Linked DNA regions of Homo sapiens: region 1 is linked to region 2. Evidence: promoter capture Hi-C in 16 types of primary human blood cells and fetal thymus (Javierre and others, 2016). All regions are on one chromosome and are shown on one strand. The core of a region is centred on a gene start or on the middle of the fragment in contact, and the rest is flanking DNA. Distances in the headings are between cores, read along the strand shown. Region 1 holds the start of RNF20 (ring finger protein 20). Region 2 holds the start of UBQLN1 (ubiquilin 1).

Region 1 (4,640 bases), core at 1,033-3,532, about 18 Mb after region 2:
AAATCTGCTTCAATTCTAGTATTCAAAGAAATTCACCCTGATTAAAGTGTCAATTGCTGACTAGGACTTTGGCTTGGGAAATGGAACTTAGTATTTAAGACAATCCTTGGAGATTGGGGTGAAATCAGTTTTCCCTAAGACTTAATGGAATCAAAGTGCTATATGGATACATGAAAAAAATCCTGGTTCTGCTAAGGTGAGGGAAGGGGAATAGCTGTTGGGTAGATCACCAATAATGTCCACCAGACACTTACGTAGTACCAGCAATTGATTTATCACAATGTAACACACAAGTGATGATACTCAAATTAAACTATACTAGTGCTAAGGAACCAGTAAAGATTAGTGGGGATTATGGTAAACAAGAATAACATGATCTATTAATAAAAGAGAGCCACGCCAAGCGTGGTGGCTCATTGCCAGTAGCTGTGGCTCAGGCCTGTAATCTCAGCACTTTGGGAGGCTGAGGTGGATGGATCGTCCGAGGTCAGGAGTTTGAGACCGGCCTAGCCAACATGGCGAAACCCCATCTCTACTAAAAATACAAAAATTAGCCAGGTGTGGTGGCGTGTGCCTGTGATCCCACCCACTTGGGAGGCTGAGGCATGGGAATTGCTTGAACCTGTGAGGTGGAGTTTGCAGTGAGCCGAGATTGTGCCACTGCACTCCAGCCTGGGTGACAGAGTAAGACTCTGTCTCGAAAAAAAGAAAAAAAAAAAAAAAGAAGAAGCCACTACTTTGCTCTAAGCAATGTGACCATGCAAAAATATAACCCTTCTGTTGCAAGATCATCAACATTTTTTAGAGAAACTGATAATTTGGATTTTTATGTAAAATAGCCATATTTTAAATGTTGGCAACTAAGTTCATTTTTGTTCTTGTTTTTAACCACGCAGGACAGCCAATACTGTCTAAAATAAACAAAGCATAACTGTTGGCTAAATGCAGTCTGTGAACCTCTAGTTTTCTGGGCTAGAAAAACCATTACTTGCCATTCAGTAGTTCTATGAATGAAAGGCTTGCTAAGAGTAGAGGAACCAAAGAAGATGAGAGAATGAGTGTCATTGTCTCATACAATGCTTTTCGGCAGGTGTGTCCCCACTCACATGTTCTCAGGCTCCCACTTCACGGAATGAAATGTGAAGTCCACTTGGGGCCAGTTAATTCTTTCCAAGATAGTCAAGGTGTTCCACTGCCAGGCACCAGGAACACTTGTTTCCCTGGTGTTGACCATCTTACTTCATTTACAGGTAAGCCCTAGCAGGTACAGGGACAAAAGTCTTCACACTAACAGAAATCCAGTGTAGATTAGCTTCTTTTTTTCCCAAGATGCCTAAATTCTATTTTTTAAAAAAGATATAGCGATCATTCTTCCATTTCTAGACCCTTAGCTGACGTCATTAGGTAGTTTATCATAGTTCTGCGAGACATACAGCTTTTCATTAATAGGTTAGATTAATTACCGTCCTATCATTAAAACGCATTTAGTTTAACTGAATGGAAAATAGCAGTTTGTCATAAACTTAAAAAAAAAAATCAATGCTTAATTAGCTTAAAATAGACTAGTACTGAGATCAGAGACTGATTGGCGTTTATCTTTTCCCTGGACAATTTCTTGTTCCCAAAAAAGCACAAGGGCAGTAGTTGTCACTCCTGCTTACGCATTAGAATCTAGTGGATGGAAATGCGGGGTTTGGGGGGAGGAGATGAGGGGAACGCTTTTTTAAAAAAGCTTTTGTCCAGGCCAAGTGATTCTAATGTGTAGACAGGGCAGAATACCGCTCCCTGTGCGGGGGAAAAAATCCCCAACATCTGAAATTCCTCAAATCCCTCAGATTCTCTCCAGAACTCTTCATTTCAGCACGTAGGGGTACCAACGAACAATTTTCTGAGGTGTCTGAGGCTAGTCATGTCCCCGGAGATTGACGGGACCGTCAGCCAATCGGCCGTCTGAACGAGTGATGGCAACCCCAATGACAAGCAACAGAATGAGGAACTTTATCCCCGCAGAAAGACCAGATCGCAGTAGCAAAGGTCAACAAGTCAACAAAAGCCAAGGGCTCTCCGTCAGGCATCAGCGAGGCCCGAGTACTCTTAGAGGTCGTAGCCAGGAGAGGGTCCCGCGCTTGCCCAGCGTTGCTAGGGAGGCGGCGCTTGCTCAAGCTTCTCGTGCCCTCTCCGTACGTCACTTCCGCCCGGCGGGGTCTCATAGTCCTATGGGCTGGGTTGAAGCCACTTCCTTTTTTCTTTCCCTTTTTCCTCTCCGTGGCCCCGCCTCCCGGAAGTTCTGCCTTGTCTCCGCCGCGGGTCAGGGGTGAGAGCTGGAATCTCTGCACGGGCCTTGGTGAGTAACTGCTGCGAGTTCTGTTCCCGCGCGGCGCCAGTTCAAAGAACTTAGGTTAGATCACGCTTAGGGCCCAACAGGACTGTGCCAGGCCTCAGGAGTCTCCACCCTCTCCAGTTTTGGGGCCGTCAGTCTCCTGGGCCTGCAATTATCCACGCTGAGGCTGAGGTCTTTGGCTTTTAGCGAGTTGGATTGCAGCCTTGTTCTGCTTCTGTGTCTTCTCTCTCCAGGCGAGGTCCTACTGAGGTTGTTGCCAGCGATAGTCCTCTCCTGGAGCTTGAATTGGAAGCAGAGTAGTCTTGTTAGTCTCGGTGATGGCTGCGTTGTTTCCTGAAGTAGCCAAAGTGCTTTAGCATCCATTCCGCCTCCTTTGAGCACCCTGGGAGGTAGGCAGGGCAGACGAAAAATATATTCGTTAATATTGTGCAGTTGAGGAAACTGAAGCTCTTGGCGAATTCACTGTTTCAAAGCAACACGGCCTCTAACAGGCAGAACTGAAATTCGCACCCAGGTCTAACTAACGTAGGGTTGCATAAAACAGTGGAGAGAGCGTTTGGAAATAGGGAAAACACTGCAAACGTTAAAGAAGAGCTGGGGTTTCTGAGTGCTTACTTTGTGTTCGGCTTTGTGCCAAATTCTTTCTATAATTATATCATCCATTTTATTTTATAATAAGCATAGGAAGTATATACTGTGGTTATTTATTCCTGGGTTAGGAAACTGAGGCTTAGAGATGATAACTGACTTGTCTAGTACTAATGACTTTAGTAGGCATTTCACAGATCTCTTTCAGCTCTGTGATTCTTTCAACACTGTAGTATTAACTTCTGGCATAATCAAACTGCCCTTTTCTGATTTTGGCATTACAGGAAGAGAGATTCCAGAACTTTATTTTTGGTCTCTTCACCCTTTGCCCATTGTCTCATTTCTTATCACCATTCTTATCACCATCCTATTTAGAAATTTATAGTCATGTAAATTTAGCCTTGACTTTCTTTTTTTTTTTTTTTTGAGACGGAGTCCCGCTCTGTTGCCCAGGCTGGAGTGCTGTGGTGCGATCTCGGCTCACTGCAAGCTCCGCCTCCCGGGTTCAAGTGATTCTCCTGCCTTAGCCTCCCGAGTAGCTGGGACTACCGGCGCCCGCCACCACGCCTGGCTAATTTTTTGTATTTTTAGTAGAGACGGGGTTTCACCGTGTTAGGCAGGATGGTCTCGATCTTCTGACCTCTTGATCCGCCCGCCTCGGCCTCCCAAAGTGCTGGGATTACAGACATGAGCCACCGCGCCCGGCCCGCCTTGACTTTTACTCTACAATTTAATTTTTTTTTTTTTTCCTCAAAGAGAAATATGGAGATGGTTGTGGAATTAATGGATCCAGGTTAAAGGGTTGGCCAGAAAAGTTGCTAGTTTTTACTCTATTGTTTTACTCTATTGTTGCTTTGCTTACATATATTATGTCAGTTTCTGCCTTTTTTTCTATCAGGAAAACGACTGTCTTCTTCTGCCAAAATGTCAGGAATTGGAAATAAAAGAGCAGCTGGAGAACCTGGCACCTCCATGCCTCCTGAGAAGAAGGCAGCTGTTGAAGATTCAGGGACCACAGTGGAAACAATTAAGCTAGGAGGTGTCTCTTCAACGGTATGAGGAAACAGTGCCATGAAAGTGTGCTTGTCTTCTGTCAGTTGCAACTTGAAACTAAAAATTCATGGAAGCTTTCTGGAGTATGGGGAAGCTATTTGAAAAGAAGAGGGAAATAAAACAGGCTGAAAGTAGGTAAAATGATGTGGTAGTCAGTTCTAGAGGAGAGGTAGATTGATAGTTGTTCTTTGTTTTCAAGGTGTACTTATATTCTTTCGAGAATCTGGGAAGGTGGTGCCTGATACAACATTAACTATAGGTATTTAGCAGTGGGAAGATACACATTTATTTTTCATTCACTGAAAAAGTCAGTACCAGATTCTAAGAGACAGTTTAGCAATCATTGAGAGTATGGTGAAGAGTGAGAGTCTGAGACCAGATTGCCTGGAGTTGACTCTGAGCTGTACCACTTCCTAGCTGGCTGACCTTGTGTTATCCTTCCTTTGCCTGTTTTCTTGTCTGTAAAATGTAATTAGAGTACCTGCTACATTAGATTTTTATGCATATAAAATAAGAGTCCCTGTTAAGGGCTAACACTTTGCATTTAATATAGTAAATAGTCAATAAATGGGAGGCATTCATAGCTAATATTGGGCTAGATAATATAATGGTGCATAACATAGATATTATCCTTGCTCTTATGGAGCTGACAAAATGA
Region 2 (4,321 bases), core at 628-3,127:
CACGGAATGGCAACCATATGCATTTCACTGCTGCCAAAATTACGTCAAAAAAACGTAAAAAATGAAGTTGAACTTAGGCAAATAAGTTCACAATGCTGAAGTGACATGTACTGGTGTCATCTACTGATACGTGCAACTTACTCTGAATTGCTCCCCAAAATTAAATGAACTTGATAATCGATTATAATACCGTAAAATGCTAATTGTAGATGATGGACATATGTGTATCCACTTCCCAATTCTTTCAACTTTCCGCATGCTTGAAAATACAAAAATGGTAAGGAAAATTTTTACAAGCACTGGGAGACAAAAACAAAAGTGATAATTCTGTTGGTGGTAAAAGTTTCTCTCATTTGATGTTACACACCTCACTGCTTCACAAAATACACTACCTTTGGAACTCGTTAAACCAATACCCCAATCACCTACTGTCCCTGGGGAAACTGATAGGTACATTTCAGGAATTGTTGTTTCCTGTCACCAACTGTTCACGTTGTTTGCGATCTTCAGAGATTAAGTCAGTAATTATGGAAAACACGACGTATTCAACAATACACTAAAATTATTTGTTAAATTCCACCAAGAATCTTAATTAACTGCAAGATTTGTATTCCTGAACCAAGTTTAAGTAATATTCTGCATTCACTCCGATTTTCTTTTATTTGATTGCAACCGCTAATATCAACATCGCTATCGCCCCTCTAAAATCAAACAAAAACCTACCCAATGATTGGCATCTAAGAGATGATAAACATACTAAAAGGGAAAGAGCAAGTCATCAGTGAAAGAAAGTCATTCACTTTTCTCCTTAAACCTAGTACTATCACTATTACTTAAGATGGAGCTAAAAACAGTTTCTACGTCATAATTTTTTTTTAAAGGTTGCAAGGTGGGAAAGATTTCAGGAGTTAAAATGCAGAACTAAATATACACATGCACCTCACCCCAAAACCCACCTTAACAAGCAGGCACGTAAAACAACGAGGATCCCACCCACCCCTTTTTAATTCATGAAACAAAACCGCAGCCTGAGCTAAAGCGAACCCTCGCCCCCGCCCAGCCTCCACCCCGCCCGGAGGCTGGCGGTGGGTCCCTTTCCTTTGTGAGGAGTTGGAGGGGAGGCGACGGAGGGCGGGGAACTGGGGGAGGAGGCTGAGGGTCGGCGGATACCAGAGAAGGAAGGCTCCGAGAAAAGCGGCATCAGCCCGTCCCACAAACAGGCCGCGCCGCCACGCCACAAACCATTGCGGTGTCCCAAGGCGCAAACCCACGAACTTGGGTGTGATCTAATTTGGGACGACGCCCGGGAGAATGGCCGAGGACGACCCCTCTCCCAGGCCCTTCCAAAAGGTCTCCTGGGGCGGCGGGCGGAGGTCCTGCCGCCACCCCCATCCCGGCCCGAGCCCCAGGCGGCCTCACCTGCTGGACGGAGCTATTCTCGGGCACGGCGAATTCCTCCTTTTCCTTCGGGGTCTTCACGGTGACTTTCATGATTTTGGGCTCCGCGGAGGCAGCGGCCGCGGGGGCGCCAGCACCTTCGGCTCCGGCGGCGCTATCCTGGGAGCCCGGAGGACCGCCGCTTTCACCACTCTCGGCCATGGCTGTGGCGGCGGCGGCGGCGGTGACTCAGGCAAGCAGGAGGGAGCAGGCGAGCAAGGAGGAGCCAGCAGACACCAGAGCCGGCAGGCCTGGACAGCGAAGAATGCAGAGCACGCCGCCTCAGTAGCAACGGGCGCAGGGCCACCGTAGCGGGTGTGGGGCCCCGGAGCTCGGTGCAGGCTCTGGCGCAGGCCCGGGTCAGGCGCTCGGCAGCCGCCGTGTGTTCAGGCGCCGCTCGCTCACACCGACATCCGCAGCAGCCACCGCTTCCTCCTCCCTGCCCCTTCCCCCACGTCCCTTCGCCGGCGCCGCGCGGAGCACGCCGGGTAACGCGCCTGGCGGCGTCGCCGAGTCATCCCCGGCTGGCGCGACTTTGAGCTCAGCCTGCGTGCCTTTTCCTTTCCCGCTCCATTGCCCAAAGTGCAGGCGAAGCCAGTGTGAAGGACTAAAAGCAAAATGGGGCGGGGTAGGTCAGTTCATGGTTTTTTTCCACTCCTTTCACCAAAAACTAAATCGCAGTTTCCAGTTAAGCGCTGTAACGGCGCACCGAGATGACGTCACGGTTAGCGAAATTACTAGAAAGGGACCAGTGGGCCCTGCGGCCGCGGCTGCGCCTGCGCGCTTGCTGTCCAGGTAGTCTCCCCACCTTACCTCATGCCCAGCTGGGCCGTGTTCACCCCTCCGCGCTGTCACAATCGCCTTGCCCTCCCTTGCCTCTCTGTCTACTCTGCGTTCCCCGCTGGGAGGAGGGTCTGGTGATAAAATAGCGGCGAGGTATTTTGTTATTTTAATATGCTTAGCGTTTGATATTTGGAGGGGTCGTATTGCCCTATGCGGGGGAGTTGGGGTAAGTTAATGGTGGAAAGGCCTCAGCACAACGAACAGAAAATGGAGTGAACGCCCGTGACTGCCCTGCGCAATCCTGCGGAGTCATTGCTTCATGGCCAGAGCTTATTTACCGCCCTCGGGTTAGCCCGGTTTGGTCAGACGATCAGTCAGGCAACCTGTATTGACAGTGGCCTCTGCTGCTACGATGACAGCTGTGCGCGAGCGCCCCCAGATTATCTGTGTGTAGGGCGGAACAGGGTGCCCGAGGAGTGTCCACCCAAATGGGACAATTTAATATAGTTGAGGTGTTCGCCTTATATTCTATCAAATTAAGTTACTGGTCAATTTCAGGCTTTAAGTGGCATTAAGGATAGTTCCAAAATTATTTTCAGTGTAATACAGAGAGAAATTATCTCTGAGAATCCTAATTTGAAATGACGTCATTGGCTTTTAAAGATGACTTGCAAGGAATGTACAAACCAGCCCATTATTAATCAATGTTGCACAATTTAAATCCTGACAGCCCACTATGACCCAAATCCGCAAAGATACATTCTGCCTTTCTGCTCCTAAGCCGTCCAACCCTGTTCTGAGAATAAATACTGTTACATAAACACGACTTTTTAGCAGAGCTCTATGGAATCTGGGTCTAAGAGAATCCTGAGGGTATCGATTTCAGTATAGACATCATTTGATATCACCTAAATTTCTGGCAGCATGGCTCAATAACAAGGCCTTCTGCTTAATGAAGGATGACTACTTGGTTATGTCCAGGTGTGAGATGATCACTGCTTCTAAAGCTAGAAAGTGCCACAACTGGACAACCAATCATTTGGAATTTCTTCCATATGTCTAAATAAAATTTCTCCTCAACTTCATTAGCTCCTCATTACCTGTTTTTCCCTGTCATGCTGTGTCTTACCTGCATGCTTTGCCTAGGCTGCCTTCCTCTACCTAGAATGACTTTCCCCTTGCCTTCACCTGTCTAACTTCTACTCATCCTGTATCACATGCCCCAGGAAGACTTCACTCCCTACCATTTAGAGATATGGTTTTTCCCTTGATTCTCCAACAAATACCGTGTGTGTGTGTGTGTGTGTGTGTGTGTGTGTGTCTGTCTCCCTGCATTTATGGACTTTGCAATTATCTGTGTCTACATTATTGTCTAAAAATGTTTGATGTGTGTGACACTATAAGGTAATAAGATTTACCTGTAAGAAGATACCATATAGTTATCCATTGTTATGGCACTTTTTAGATATAATCCTGACCTGCATGAGAATCGGAGGTGGGGGCACTATGGTGTAAATCAGAGATTAGTGAACTTTCTGGGAGGGCTAGATAGTAAATATTTGGTTGGTGCCAAAAAAAAAAATTTGCAAAAACCGCAATTATTTATGCATCAACCTAATATTTTAGGCTTTGTGAGCCACAGGATCTCGGTCTAAAACACTAAGCTATGCCCTTGTATCACAGAGTAATCATAGACAATACATACATGAATAATCATAGCTATGTTTACTAAAAACTCTACTTGCAAAACAAAAACAGACATAGGATCTGATTTGGCCTACAGAAGATAGTTTGCCAACCCCAGGTCTAGATGTTTATTTGTGGCATTTTCTTCTGAATGGTTTTTGTTTGTTAAATGGTCTGTCTGGAGAAAATTTTAAGAACATATTTTATCACAGTATCCTAATACTGTATAATACTATATTGAGCATACAAGAATAATAAGACTCAGTTTCTGCCGTCAAAAAACTTGAAGTGATAGTTGGATGATGGGGGTGAGGGATAGGAGGGAGACTGGCAGTGATGTCCTGGTAAATGACTAATAACCAGTCCTCCTGAAAATAAACTTTATTACATTTGCCAATTTCCTTGATGTAAATAC

Evidence for each region. Contacts are between HindIII fragments. The CHiCAGO score rates a contact against its expected background, and 5 or more counts as called.
Region 1: the fragment with the promoter of RNF20 here is called in contact with the fragment with the promoter of UBQLN1 in region 2 in 2 of 17 cell types (total CD4 T cells and total B cells); the score reaches 6.6 in total CD4 T cells.

What each region holds. Positions count from the first base shown.
Region 1 is chr9:101,531,571-101,536,210 of GRCh38, forward strand. It overlaps RNF20 (ring finger protein 20), which reads left to right and starts at 2,283. Exons shown (of 20, transcript NM_019592.7): 1 at 2,283-2,344; 2 at 3,828-3,982. The coding sequence starts at 3,854. It also overlaps a transcript of PGAP4 not described here. RefSeq lists an enhancer at 2,025-2,154. The HindIII fragment of the contact is 1,893 bases long and covers 2,162-4,054 here.
Region 2 is chr9:83,706,081-83,710,401 of GRCh38, forward strand. It overlaps UBQLN1 (ubiquilin 1), which reads right to left and starts at 1,878. Exons shown (of 11, transcript NM_013438.5): 1 at 1,420-1,878. The coding sequence starts at 1,599. It overlaps UBQLN1-AS1 (UBQLN1 antisense RNA 1), which reads left to right and starts at 1,755. Exons shown (of 2, transcript NR_135839.1): 1 at 1,755-2,232. RefSeq lists enhancers at 901-1,791, 1,559-1,628, 1,792-2,680. The HindIII fragment of the contact is 7,028 bases long and covers 1-4,321 here.